Regions from separate parts of the Homo sapiens genome. Here regions 1, 2, 4 and 5 are each linked to region 3. The links are contacts of gene promoters, found by promoter capture Hi-C in human tissues and cell types (Jung and others, 2019). All regions are on one chromosome and are shown on one strand. The core of a region is centred on a gene start or on the middle of the fragment in contact, and the rest is flanking DNA. Distances in the headings are between cores, read along the strand shown. Region 1 has its middle 16 kb from the start of RABGEF1. Region 2 overlaps ZNF92 (zinc finger protein 92). Region 3 holds the start of CRCP (CGRP receptor component). Region 4 overlaps KCTD7 (potassium channel tetramerization domain containing 7). Region 5 overlaps TMEM248 (transmembrane protein 248).

Region 1 (2,700 bases), core at 49-2,548, 610 kb after region 3:
GGGTTCAAGTGATTCTCCTGCCTCAGCCTCCTGAGTAGCTGGGATTACAGGGCTGTGACACCACGCCTGGCCACTTTTGTATTTTTAGTAGTGACGGGGTTTCACCATGTTGGTCAGGCTGGTCTCGAACTCCTGACCTCAGGTGATCTGCCCACCTTAGCCTCCCAAAGTGCTGGGATTACAGGTGTGAGCCACCATGCCTGGCCAATTATCTTTTAAAGAAATGAAAATAAGAGAAAATATCTGTTACATTAATCCACATATTTGCCATTTTTAGTGCTTTTCATTGTCTTGTATTTCATGTTTATGTTTATCTTTTTCCTTTAGCCTGAAATTTTAATTTTATAAATTTTTGTGTTGCAGTTTCTGTTGGGCAATAAATTTTCTCACCATTTGTTTCTTAAGAAATTTTTTTTTTGTCTTCGTTTGAGAGAGGCTATTTTAATTGAATAAAGAATTATAGGTTAACAGCTTTTTCCCCCCAGCACTCTAAAGATGTCATGTTATTGTCCTCTAGCTTTCATTGTTTCTGATAATAAGTCAGCAGTAATTCTTATCTTTGTTCCTTCTACATAATGTGTTATTTCCTTCTCTGGCTGCTTTTAAGATTTTTCTCTTTATTTTTGGTATTCAGCAACTTGATTGTGATATGTTTTGGTGTGGTTTTCTTTGAATCAGTATTTATTTATTTTATTTTTTTTTTTTGAGACGGAGTCTCGCTCTGTCACCAGGTTGGAGTGCAGTGGCGCGATCTCGGCTCACTGCACCCACCGCTTCCCAGGTTCAAGCAATTCTCCTGCCTCAGCCTCCCGAGTAGCTGAGATTACAGGCGCATGCCACTGCGCCCAGCTAATTTTTGTATTTTTAGTAGAGACAGGGTTTCACCATGTTGGTCAGGCTGGTCTTGATCTCGTGACCTTGTGATCCACCCACCTCGGCCTCCCAAAGTGCTGGGATTATAGGCGTGAGCCACTGCACCTGGCCTGAATCAATATTTATTCTTCTTGGAGCTCTTTGAGTTTCTTGGATCTTTGGGTTCATGGTTTTCATCAAATTTATAGTTTGAAAAAAATTCAGCAATTATTTCTTCTGCCTCTGGTACTCCAATTATATGTGTGTTGGATGGATTAATATTGTCCTATAGGTCACCAAGGCTCTGTTAAAATTTTTTTTGGCTTGCTTTTTTCCCTTGGTGCTTTAGTTTAGATAGATTCAGGTTCATTGATCTTGTCTTTGTAGTGCCAAATCTGCTGTTAAGCTCATCCCATATGTTTTTTATCTTAGACATTATGTTTTCAGCTCTAGAAGTTCCATTGGTTCTCTTTTAAATCTTCTATTTCTCTCCTTATTATATTTGTTTTCCCTTTAAAATCTTGAACATATTTCTATAGCCGATTTAAAATCTTGGAAACTAATTTGATCATCTTTGTCACTTCTGGGTCTGTTTCGATTATTATTTTTTTAATTACAGGTCATATTTTCCCACTTCCTTACATGTCTGTACATCCTTTTACAGCTTTATCAAGATACACTTTACTTTACCATACAATTCACTAATTTAACATGTACACTTTAATGACCTTTAGTATATTCAGAGAATTGTACATCCATCATCATAATCAATTTTACAATATTTTCCTTATCCCTAAAAGAAGCTTCACTCCCCTTAGCCCTTGTCCCACAGTCCCTCCATTCTGCCCCACCCTCAGCCCTAGGCCACCACCCATCTACTTTTTGTCTTTATAGATTTGTCTATTCATATAACTGGAATAATGCAATCTGTGATTCTTTGTGACTTAGCATCATGTGTTCAGAGTCCATCCATGTTGTGGCATGTATCAGTTCTTGTTTCTTTTTATTGCCAATAACATTACATAGTATGGCTATAGTGAGTTTTGATGAGTTCGTGAATATTGTGATGTTATGCTGTTTTTGTTCCATCCATGGCAATTTTATGAGGCAGATATGACTCCCCCAACTTTATGGATGAGGAAAGTGCAGCTCGGATAGAAGGCCACACTGTGGGTGGAACTCCTAGGAAGCTGGTATGACAGAGAGGACATGGCCTTACCCTAAGGGGAGAAACATAGGCATGCTTTGCAAAAGGTCTGAGGGAAGACACAAGGAGCTCCCCCGAAAAGTAAGTCTGATGAGGGAGTTACACCCATGCTTTGGAAAGTCTAATCTGAGGGGGACGTGGACCCTTCCATGTGAAGACCCAATCAGAGGGGGAAGCTGTGACCCTTTCTTGGGCACTGTGACCTGAGGAGAGATGTGATCCCACTTAGAAAACCCCCATTCATCAGGCCTCCCTTGATCAGTGGAGGTCAGCAGCCATGGGCCTGGGTCCTAAGGCACCTTCAGCTCTCGGGAGGACCTGCCAGCACAGGGCACAAGGCCACATCTGTCTGCAGGAAGCTGCTACTCAGACAGGGCCAGAAGGGATGCCAGGCACAGAGCCAGAATCCCAAAGCACCCAGCCTGGGCTTTGCCCACAGCTGGGACCCAGAGCCATCAAATGACTATGAGAGTGCCTAGTCAGTGGGTGCTTATTCATATCTGCTGGGTGGTAGTGCCTCCAGTTCTGCAGTCCTCTCTTCCTGTAGCTGGGGCCTCTTGTTCTCTCACCTGTGGGTTCAGCTTCACTCCAGGCTCAAAGACCAGGAGGCCTCCCAGAGATTAGGAGGGATTTAAGCATTT
Region 2 (2,700 bases), core at 86-2,585, 730 kb before region 3:
TTGTATTTTTTGTACAGACAGAGTTTTGCCATGTTTCCCAGGCTGGTCGCCAACTCCTGAGCTCACGCAATCCACCTGCCTCACCCTGCCAAAGTGCTGGGATTACAGGCGTGAACCACTATGCTCAACCACAATGTATTTTCTTTATCTAGCCTACCATTGAGGGTATTTAGGTTAATTCCATGTCTTTGGTACTGTCACTAGTGCTGCAATGAAGATGCATGTGCATGGGTCTTTATGATAGAATAATTTGTATTCTTTGGGTATATACCTAATTAGGAGGTGGGTCAAATGGTAATTCTGTTTTTAGTTTTGTGAGGAATTGTCACACTGCTTTTCACAATGGTTGAACTAATTTACACTCCCACCAGCAGAGTATAAGCATTCTCTTTACCCTGCAACTTTGCCAGCACATCTATTATTTTTTTGACTTTTTTGGTAATTGCCATTCTTACTGGTGTGAGATGGTATCTCATTGTGGTGTTTTTTTTGTTTGTTTGTTTGCATCTCTCTAATGATTAGTGATGAGCACTTTTTTAATATGCTTGTTAGCCACATGTATGCTTTCTCTTTTTTTTCTTTTCTTTTTGGAGATGGAGTCTCGCTCTGTTATCCAGGCTGGAGTGCAGTGGCACGATCTCGGCTCACTGCAACCTCCATCTCCTGGGTTCAAGCAATTCTCCCTCAGCCTCCCAAGTAGCTGGGATTACAGGCACGCCCCACCATGCCTGACTAATTTTTGTATTTTTTTTAGTAGAGACGGGGGTTTCACCATATTGGCCAGGCTGGTCTCGAACTCTTGACCTTGTGATCCACCCACCTTGGCCTCCCAGAGTGCTAGGATTACAGGTGTGAGGCACCACACCCACCTGCTTTCTCTTGAAAAGCGTGTGTTTATGTCCTTTGCCTACTTTTTAATAAGGTTTTTTTTTTCTTGTAAACTTGCTTAAGTTCCTTATGGATTCTGGATATTAGACCTTTGTCAGAAGCATAGTTTGCAAATATTTTTCTTTATTCTCTAGGTTGTCTGTTTACTCTGTTGATAGTTTCTTGTGGGTTTTGTTTTTGTTTTCTGTGAAGATGCTCTTTAGTTTAATTTGGTCCCATTTATCGATTTTTGCTTTTGTGGCGATTGCTTTTGGTATCTTCATCATAATATCGTTGGCAGTTTCTATGTCTGGAATTGTATTTCCTAGGTTATCTTCCAGGGCATTTTATAATTTTAAGTTTTACATTTAAGTCCTTAATTTATCTTGTGTTTATTTTTGGATATAGTGTAAGCAGGGAGTCCAGTTTTAATCTTTTACATAGTGCTAGCTATTTATTACAACACCATTTATTAAACAGGGAATCTCTCCTACATTTCTCTTGTCAGCTTTGTCAAAAATACGATGATTGTAGGTGTGCCACATTATTTCTGGGCTCTCTATTCTGTTGCATTGGTCTCTGAGCCTGTTTTTGTACTGGTATCATGTTGCTGTGGTAGTGCTCAGAGTAGAGAGCTATTGCTTTAAAATGCAAATAGCCAAAAAGAGAGCACTATATTCAACCATTTCTATAGGAGAGTGAGAGCCTACCTTCAGCAGGCACCTGGCTTCAAATTGCAAAACTACCTCCTGTCACGAAGATGTGAAAAGTTTATTTTGTCATTGAATATAGCCAATTAGCTTACACGGATGGCCTCCCCAGTTGCCAGGTGAATTTAGGATGAACTATGTATAACATGGTACTGTAAATTCTTCTACTTATGGACTAATTATTGTGACCGTCTTTCTGTCTTTGCAGTCTCTTAAGCAGATTGTGATGCGTGTCACATTCTGGTGTAATTGTGTAATAAAACAGTTTTCTTTCTGTTTTATCATTGTGGAGTTACTCTGGGGCTGGAGAAAACTTTCCTTTTAATTATATTTTCCAAACACTGTTTAAACTTACCACACATGATATAAACATATAAGGTGCCAACCAAGCTTTAATCTAGATGGGCCTTTTTGTCTCAGGCTTCCAGTCAACTCATGATTGTGCTGCAAAATGCATGCTGTCCCCTGAATATGCAGGCAGAATCGTGCCTCTGCCTATTTGGTATCTAGTCCTGTATAATCACATCTAGAGAGGCTAGACCAAATTTCTAAATACTTCACAGAACAGCAATTAACCATTTTACCTCTTTCAATGACTCTTGTATCTTTAGACCTGAAACTGATTCAGAGACTGTGGGGCCCGTTAGAGTAACATGCATGCATTGAGTAGACATGTAGGCATGAGAATCTCCACTTTCCCCTTCCTTCTCTTTTTAAAATGCCCACAAATGTGCAGGTAACACTTACTGCTATTCTACCCATCCAGGACCTAAACTAGCGGCTCCACATTCTGAATCTGGGTCTTGCAGTAAACCTTTTATCTGAGAAATGCAAATCCTTTTAGTTATAAGGCTCAAAGAGACATTAAAACGAGACCACAATTGTGTCTTTCTCTCTCCTTTGAGCTATGTATTTATCTCTTGAAACTGCTTGCTATTGCCACGAGTAGCTATAAATTAAACTAATAATGCTACGCTGAACACTATAACCCACACCCTATACAGCTTAGAAATGTATGTCAATCAGTAATCAAGGTTGTTTTTAGTAAATAAGTAAGATTTCCTGACAATTTTGTATCAGCCCACTCTCTATCTCTTTTTGCCTTTAAAAATCCACTTGTAAC
Region 3 (2,700 bases), core at 123-2,622:
TAATCCCAACACTTTGGGAGGCTGATGAGGGTGGATCACAAGGTCAGGAGTTCAAGACCAGCTTGGCCAAGATGGTGAAACCCCGTCTCTACTAAAAAAATACAAAAATTAGCTGGGCATTATGGCGGGCACCTGTAATCCTAGCTACTGGGGAGGCTGAGGCAGGGAACTGCTTGAATCCAGGAGGCAGAGGTTGCAATGAGCCGAGATCACGACACTGCACTCCAGCCTGGGCAACAGAGTGAGACTGATCTCAAAAAAAAAAAAAAAGAAAAAGAAAAAGAAAAAAAGAAAATTAGCCAGGTGTAGCGGAGCGCACCTGTGGTCCCAGCTACTCTGGCAGGCTGGGGTGGGAGGATTGCTTGAGCCCAGGAGTTCAAGGCTGCAGTGAGCTCTGATTGCACCACTGCATTCCAGCCTGGGCGACAGAGCAAGACCCTGTCTCTTAAAAAATAAATAAATAAACTGCAATGTTTCTGGCAGCCCAGATGCCACCAGCCTCACTACTCTCTGAGAGGTGGGATTTTAACATGCAAAGGCCCACTAACCCGATCACGTCTCACAACTTCAGCTGATTAATACTTTGTTAAAACCTAGACCACGAAAACAGACAGAGCCCGGCGAGGTGGCTCACGCCTGTAATCCCAACACTTTGGGAGGCCGAAGCGGGTGGATCACGAGGTCAGGAGTTCAAGACTAGCCTGGCCAAGATGATGAAACCCCGTCTCTACTAAAAAATACACAAATTAGCTAGGCGTTATGGCGGGCGCCTGTAATCCCAGCTACTCGGGAGGCTGAGGCAGGGAATTGCTTGAACCTGGGAGGCAGAGATTGCAGTGAGCCGAGATCGTGCCACTGCACTCCAGCCTGGGTGACAGAGCGAGACTCTGTCTCAAAAAAGAAAAAAAGAGGCTGGGCACGGTGCCTCACGCCTGTAATCCCAGGACTTTGGGAGGCCGAGGCGGGCGGATCACGAGGTCAGGAGATTGAAACCATCCTGGCTAACACGGTGAAACCCCGTCTCTACTAAAAACACAAAAAATTAGCCGGGCTTGGTGGCAAGCGCCTGTAGTCCCAGCTACTTGGGAGGCTGAGGCAGAAGGAGAATCGCTTGAACCCAGGAGGCGGAGGTTGCAGTAAGCCGAGATCCAGCCTGGGCGACAGAGCGAGACTCCGTCTCAAAAAAAAAAAAAGGTTAAAGAAAAAAAGAAAAGAAAACACAAGATAATCCTGTCCGCAAACGCTTAGCAGTCTTAAATCGGCCTGGTGGAAGGATGCAGGGACACTCCCCCACCCTGCCCCCCGAAAAAGGGGAACGCGCAGCGCGAGGTTCCGGGTCCGCCAAGCTCCCGGCATGCAGCGCGGCGATCCCGGCGAGCACCTTGGCGCGCGGAGCTGGCACCTTGGCGCTGTTGGTGGCGGCGGAGACAGCTGTGAAGTGTGAGGTTCTTTGTCTGCTGGCAGCTAGGGGCGACGAGGCGGGACGTCATGGAAGTGTAAGTCTTCTCGGGCGCGTCCCTTTTCGCCCGAGGAGCCCAACGGTTTGACCGCTGAGAGCTGAGAGCCGAGAGCCGTGGGGACTGGGCGACCCTCGTACGGGAGTGAGGGCAGCGGGCCGGCCCTGTCCGGGAGGGCCGCGGGGTGGTGACGGGGACGAACGGGACTCTCGCTTTGCCCTTCCGAACCTTCGCTTCCCCTCCACGCCGTGTCTGGTGCGGGGCCGAGCACTTCCGTGTCCGGCTGCCTTTCAATGTGCCCCCTCCTTCTCTCATTCGTTTACCAGCGTTTCTGGGTCACAGTGCGGGGGTGGAGCCCAGTCTGGTATCCGACCCCGGACTTAGAAGGCTATAAAGGCCTGAGTCTGTCCGCCCTGAAAGTAGGTGGAGGAGAGACGAATCAGGGCCGGGTAGAGCTCTGCTTGCAGCTGTAGGCCCCTGGAGAGCCCTCGGAAGAGCTGCCCTCGGAATTTGATGGGAGCAGTAAACACTGTGAGGGAAGGGGCTGGTTTTGGGGTGGAGAAGGGAAGGACGTGAACCAGGACTGGGACCAGAGAAACAGCAGGGGGTGTGTGGGTGTGTGTGCAAGGCGAGGGTAAAAGATTTTCTGACAGTTTAACTCCACGTGGTCTTTTCCATGCTTGCTCGTTGCGCCTGGTGCAAATGGAAGATTTTGCATCTACTCTGAATGTGGGCTTTATACGGTTGATATTAATTTGTAGGTATTACTATCTTGTGTTCTCTTTGAACTGATTATTTGATACAGTTTCCTTTATGTTCTTTTGCCTCATGTTTAATGGTTATATGTACTATGGCATTTCACATTTTTACATTTTTAATTAATTGTTTTTTCTTAAGAAACAGGGTCTTGCTCTGTCCCCCAGGCGGGGTGTAATCATGGTTCACTGCAGCCTCACTTTCTGGACTCAAGCAATCCTGCTTCAGCCTCTTCAGTAGCTGGGACTACAGGCCCACGCCATCACTCACCGCTAATTTTTTAAAAAAAGTTTTGTAGATGCAGGGTCTCACTACAGCCCAGGCTGGTCTCCAGCTCCTGAGCTCAAGTGATCCTCCTGCTTTGTACTCCCAAAGTCCTGGGATTGCAGGCGTGAGCCACTTCACCTGGCCTCTTCCGATTTTTTTTTAAACACAATATGTCTGTGTAACTGAAATGAAAGGCTCATGAAACAATAATGTGTGGCGT
Region 4 (2,700 bases), core at 55-2,554, 530 kb after region 3:
TCCTGTGTGAGTTCATGTACCTGTCTGTGAGTGCTTTGGTGTATTGAGCCTCAGTACACTCCAAGGGCATTAAAGTCAAGAACTAGAACCTGGGTGCTGTGCCTTTCTTTTTTAGAGATGTGCTCTCATCTCTTCTCTGACCCCCACTTTGCCAGCAAATATTTTTTATTTCTGCTTAAAATGTGGTGTGTTTGGGGATGCCCCACACAACAAGACAGGCTTTTCCCTGAGACCAGCAGCTGAATTTCTGCCCTGAAAGGGAGGTGGGCCTCTTGAGGACCCTTCTAGAGTTACTCTAGACTTGTCCCTGTTTCATGTAGGCATGTGCCCACCCCAGCCTAGGCAAAATCTCTGTCCTCTTCTTTTGGGAGTTCTCCAAGGAAAGAAGAGACTGCAGGTGCAGTCACGTGTGTGGCTCACAACCATGTCAGGTAGTTCTAAAATAAATTCCTCCTGTCATATTACCACTTCCTTTTCAATGGGGGAAATAAGTAGCTCTAAATTTATGTAAGCCTCAGTGGTTAAGACCCTTCCTTAAGAAAAATGGACGTAAGTTGCCCTTCCTTTGAAAGCAGAGCTTGACACCTTCCTGGCTAATGAGTGTCCTCATCAAGATGCCCCCTGGAGTCACATCATGGATTAACGCAGAAAGGTGAGTTCTGAGGCTCTGAGTAGCTTCATACCCTCCAACTGCTTCCCTTAAACCTCTGATTATTCTGGCTTTTAAACAAAAGCACTGTATCATCTGTGCCAAATGTATTCCCTGACTAATTACTGAGTACAGTCACATAGTTATAGTACACTAATAATACAGGCTGGAAACTGAAGCTCATAGAAGTATGTAGTTTCCCCAAGAGTGCAGAGCTAGTAAGTGGAAGAGTCAGGATTCAAACCCAGAGCCCCTTTCTGAAATCCTCAGAGGTGTTCAACAGCATGATCCTCCCTTCCTCTTGACAGCTCGTATCCTCCTCCTGAGGTTTAGGGCTTCACTCTACCTGACCTGTGAAGATTTGAAAGCACATATCTAGGACAAGTATTAGAAAGTCTTCATACTTCAGGAAAGGATTTTAGGAAAAAAGGAAAAAAAAAATCTCCCATAGATGTTGTATTAGTCCATTTTCACACTGCTGTAAAGAACTACCTGAGACCGGTTAATTTATAAAGAAAAGAGGTTTAATTGACCCACAGTTCACATCCCTGGGAGGCCTCAGGAAACTTATAATCATGGCAGAAGGCGAAGTTCAGAAGCAAGGCACATCTTATATGGAGGCAGGAGAGAGAGAGAATGGGGAGGCCAGGCATGGTGGCTCATGCCTGTATAATCCCAGCACTTTGGGAGGCCGAGGCAGGCAGATCACGAGGTCAAGAGATTGAGACCATCCTGGCCAACATGGTGAAACCCCATCTCTATTAAAAAACAAAATACAAAAAAATTAGCTGGGCATGGTGGCGTGCACCTGTAGTCCCAGCTACTCGGGAGGCTGAGGCAGGAGAATCACTTGAACTCAGGAGGCAGAGGTTGCAATAAGCCGAGATCATGCCACTGCACTCCAGCCTGGAAACAGAGTGAGACTCCATCCCACAAAAATAAAAAAAGAGTGGGGAAATGCTACACTTTTAAACCATCAGAGCTCGTGAAAACTCACTATCACAAGAACAGCATAGGGGAAATCTACCTCCATGATCCAATCACCTCCCTCCAGGTCCCTCCCCTGACAAGTGGGGATTACAGTTCAACATGAGATTTGGGTGGGGACACAGAGCCAAACCATATCAAATGTGTAGTCCTTATGTAGCCCCTGTGTTAAGGGGGTAGATGGGGCTCCCGATTTACTGACCTTCTTAGTGAGGGACACATATCCGCTAGGTGAAGGAGGCCCTGTTCACAGGATGATGTATGGAGTATGACAGAGTAGGTGAGTCATGGCTCCTTGGCTAGACCCCAAGGGTGGGATGATCTGGAACCACCTGAGTTAATGACACTCCTGAAGCCTTGCAGGTATCCCTGCATAGACAAGCTGGATAGCCTACTTCCAACATCAAAAGCATAACAGAATGGGAGACTCCTTAGTGTAGTTCAGGGGATGCCATGTGCCTGGCTTGGGACTCATGGCCCTTGGACTTAGATCTCTATACTGCCAAGTGTCCCGTCTTCATTCTTGTGTAGATGACCTCTTCACTACTTAATTTTGGTTTGTTGAACTTATAGCCTGTTCCCTTAGCTTTTATTTACTTACCTTTAGCTTTCTTTTAATTCCTTACCACATTGTTTTTCCTATCATGTACTTTAGCTTAATTTCTCTGTTTTTTAAACATAATTTTAAACTTTCTTTCTTTCTTTCTTTTTTTTTTTTTTGAGACAGTCTTGCTCTGTTGCCCAGGCTGCAGTGTAGTGGTGCAATCTCAGCTCACTACATCCTCCACCAGCTGGGTTCAAGCAATCCTCCTTCGTCAGCCTCCCAAGTAGCTGGGATTACAGACGCGCCACCAAGCCTGGCTAATTTTTGTATTTTTAGTAGAGATGGGGTTTCACCATATTGGCCAGACTGGTCTCAAACTCCTGACCTCAGGTGATGTACCCGCCTTGGCCTCCCAAAGTGCTGGGAGTACAGGCATGAGCCACCACCACACCGAGCCTAGTAGTTTTTGTTTTGAGAAAGAATAGTTAGGTGCTTTTCTTTTCCCTTCCCCAGTCATGTC
Region 5 (2,700 bases), core at 99-2,598, 830 kb after region 3:
CTATTAGTTTACATATTTTTTAATGGCCATTGTTAGTCTGGCACTGTGCTAAGCTGCTGGGAAGAACTAGAAAATGACTAAGATGGCTGGGTGCAGTAGCTCATGCATGTAATCCCAGCACTTTGGGAGGCCGAGGTGGGTGGATTGCCTGAGCTCGGGAGTTTGAGACCAGCGTGGGCAACATGGTGAAACCCCATCACTACTAAAATACAAAAAATTGGCCGGGCGCGGTGGCTCACGCCTGTAATCCGAGCACTTTGGGAGGCCAAGGTGGGCAGATCACAAGGTCAAGAGTTTGAGACCAGCCTGGCCAATATGGCAAAACCCCGTCTCTACTAAAAATACAAAAATTAGCCGGGCGTGGTGGCAGGCACCTGTAGTCCCAGCTACTCGGGTGGCTGAGGCAGGAGAATAGCTTGAACCCAGGAGGCAGAGGTTGCAGTGAGCTGAGATTCATGCCACTGTGCTCCAGCCTGGGCGACAGAGGGAGACTCTCTCTCCAAAAAAAAAAAAAAAGAAGTCAGCTGGGCATGCAGGCATGGTGGTGCGCACTTGTAGTCCCAGCTACTCAGGAGGCTGAGGCAGGAGAATTGTTTGAACCCAAGACGTGGAGGTTGCGGTGAGCCGAGATTGCACCACTGCACTCCAGCCTGGGCGACAGAGCGAGACTCCATCTCAAAAAAAGAAAAGAAAAGACAATGCCTAAGATGGGCCCGTGCGCAGTGGCTCACGCCTGTAATCCCAGCACTTTGGGAGGCCGAGGTGGGTGGATCACTTGAGGTCAGGAGTTCAAGACCAGTCTGGCCAACATGGTGAAACCCCATCTCTACTAAAAATGCAAAAAAATTAGCCAGGCGTGGTGGCAGGCGCCCGTGATCCCAGCCACTCTGGAGGCTGAGGTGGGAGAATCACTTGAACCCTGGAGGCGGAGGCTGCAGTGAGCCAAGATCATGCCACTGCACTCCAGTCTAGGCAACAGAGTGAGACTTCACCTCAAAAAAAAAAAAGGCCTAACATTTGGTCTCTTCCTTTTGGAATTTTGGGGTTATGGAAGAGACAAAGATAAACGTGAGTTAATGTTTATCAAGCACTTACAATAGTTCCTGCCACAAAGGAAATGCTACGTAAGTGCTTGATAAGGGATATGAAAAAATACATACTTATAAAATGTGGAGCACTGCCCTTTGACCAGTACTAAACCCATGACAGACTGTAAGTGTTGCAGGAGAAGGGCTAGAAGGCAGTGGAAGCTGGAATAATCAGGAAAGGCTTCATATGGGACACCTGGGCCTTGGAAGAATAACCTTTTGTTCTTTGGTTACCAAAAGGCTTTTTAAAAATTGCTTAGGCTAGATGCAGTGGCTCATGCCTGTAATCCCAGCACATTGAGAGGCTGAGGCAGGAAGATTGCTTGAGCTCAGGTGTTGAAGCCCAGCCTGGGCACATAGCAAACACCTGTCTTTATGAAAAAATTAAAAAAATTAACCAGGTGTTGTGGCGTGCACCTGTAGTCCCAGCTACTTGTGAGGCTGAGGTGGGAGGATTGCTTGAACCTGGGAGGTCGAGGCTACAGTGAGCTAAGATTGTACCACTGTACTCCAGCCTGGGCAATAGAGTGAGACCCTGTCTCAAAAAAAAAAAAAAAAAAAAACAAGAAACAAATAAAAAGTCCTTCAAGGAATTTAAGTGCCCACCAGCCTCCTATTGGCTGTTAGAGGTGAGAATATTCCCATAATAATCAAGGTATGGGTGACTTCTGGGTTTTCCATGTAGCAAGTGGACCTGTTGCTTATGGCATGGCATAAGGACACCTTCGGGATTTTTTGTTGTTATTTTGAGATGGAGTCTCACTCTGTCGCCCAGGTTGGAGTGCAGTGGCACAATCTTGGCTCACTGCAACCTCTGTCTCCCGGGTTCAAGCGACTGTTCTGCCTCAGACTCCCGCGTAGCTGGGATTATAGGTTCGTGACACCATGCCCAGCTAATTTTGTATTTTTAGTGGAGACAGGATTTTACCATGTTGGCCAGGCTGGTCTTGAACTTCTGACTTCAAATGATCCGCCCGCCTCAGCCTCCCAAAGTGCTGGGATTACAGGCATGAGCCACCACGCTTGGCTATTTTTTAATTTTAATTTTATTTTAATATTTTAATTTTTTATTTTAATTTAATTTTTATTTAAAATTTTATTTTAATTTTGAGACTGGGTCTTGATCTGTCGCCAGGCTAGAGTGCAGTGGTGTGATCATAGCTCACTGCAGCCTCAAACTCCTGGGCTCAAGTGATCCTCCCTAGTACCTGGGACCACAGGTGTGCACCAGTACACCTGGCTGATTTTTAAAACTTTTTTGTAGAGACAGAATCTTGCTGTCATGTTCAGGCTGGTCGTGAATTCCCGGCCTCAAGCAATCCTCCTGCCTCAGCCTTCTAAAGTCAAAGTGCTGGGACTACAGATGTGAACCACTGTGCCTGGCAATACGTTGGTTTTAGTTTAAGCTTCATCACTTGCCTTTCTTAACTCTGAAACCCTCTGACCTCTGTTTGTTCATATGTAAAAGGGGAACAGCTGCACTTCTTCAGTCATGTTCATGGGAGAGTAGTAAATTTTAAGTGAAATAATACATATAAAAGATGTTTGAAAATGGCTAGACAGCTGTGCAGAAATGCTGGGGATAATTCACCCAGCCCGAGCTTTTCATCTC

What was found. Contacts are between HindIII fragments. The study calls those that stand out against the background at their distance.
Region 1: a contact is called between a fragment that was not itself captured here and the fragment with the promoter of CRCP in region 3, in 1 of the 25 tissues and cell types used here (dorsolateral prefrontal cortex).
Region 2: a contact is called between a fragment that was not itself captured here and the fragment with the promoter of CRCP in region 3, in 1 of the 25 tissues and cell types used here (spleen).
Region 4: a contact is called between a fragment that was not itself captured here and the fragment with the promoter of CRCP in region 3, in 1 of the 25 tissues and cell types used here (mesenchymal stem cells).
Region 5: a fragment that was not itself captured here is called in contact with the fragment with the promoter of CRCP in region 3 in 1 of the 25 tissues and cell types used here (spleen).

The regions. Positions count from the first base shown.
Region 1 is chr7:66,723,674-66,726,373 of GRCh38, forward strand. It overlaps a transcript of RABGEF1 not described here. Among named protein-coding and RNA genes, the nearest start is that of RABGEF1, 16 kb to the right of the region's middle. The HindIII fragment of the contact is 3,653 bases long and covers 1-2,700 here.
Region 2 is chr7:65,380,442-65,383,141 of GRCh38, forward strand. All of the region lies in intron 1 of ZNF92 (zinc finger protein 92), which reads left to right. Among named protein-coding and RNA genes, the nearest start is that of ZNF92, 7.9 kb to the left of the region's middle. The HindIII fragment of the contact is 3,903 bases long and covers 1-2,700 here.
Region 3 is chr7:66,113,475-66,116,174 of GRCh38, forward strand. CRCP (CGRP receptor component) reads left to right here and starts at 1,373. Exons shown (of 6, transcript NM_014478.5): 1 at 1,373-1,496. The coding sequence starts at 1,489. RefSeq lists silencers at 249-439, 1,868-2,162 and enhancers at 1,086-1,215, 1,753-2,281. The HindIII fragment of the contact is 12,363 bases long and covers 1-2,700 here.
Region 4 is chr7:66,642,960-66,645,659 of GRCh38, forward strand. It overlaps KCTD7 (potassium channel tetramerization domain containing 7), which reads left to right. Exons shown (of 4, transcript NM_153033.5): 4 at 1-88. Among named protein-coding and RNA genes, the nearest start is that of KCTD7, 15 kb to the left of the region's middle. The HindIII fragment of the contact is 3,952 bases long and covers 1-2,700 here.
Region 5 is chr7:66,945,585-66,948,284 of GRCh38, forward strand. The region is part of intron 3 of TMEM248 (transmembrane protein 248); the gene reads left to right. Among named protein-coding and RNA genes, the nearest start is that of TMEM248, 26 kb to the left of the region's middle. The HindIII fragment of the contact is 3,961 bases long and covers 1-2,700 here.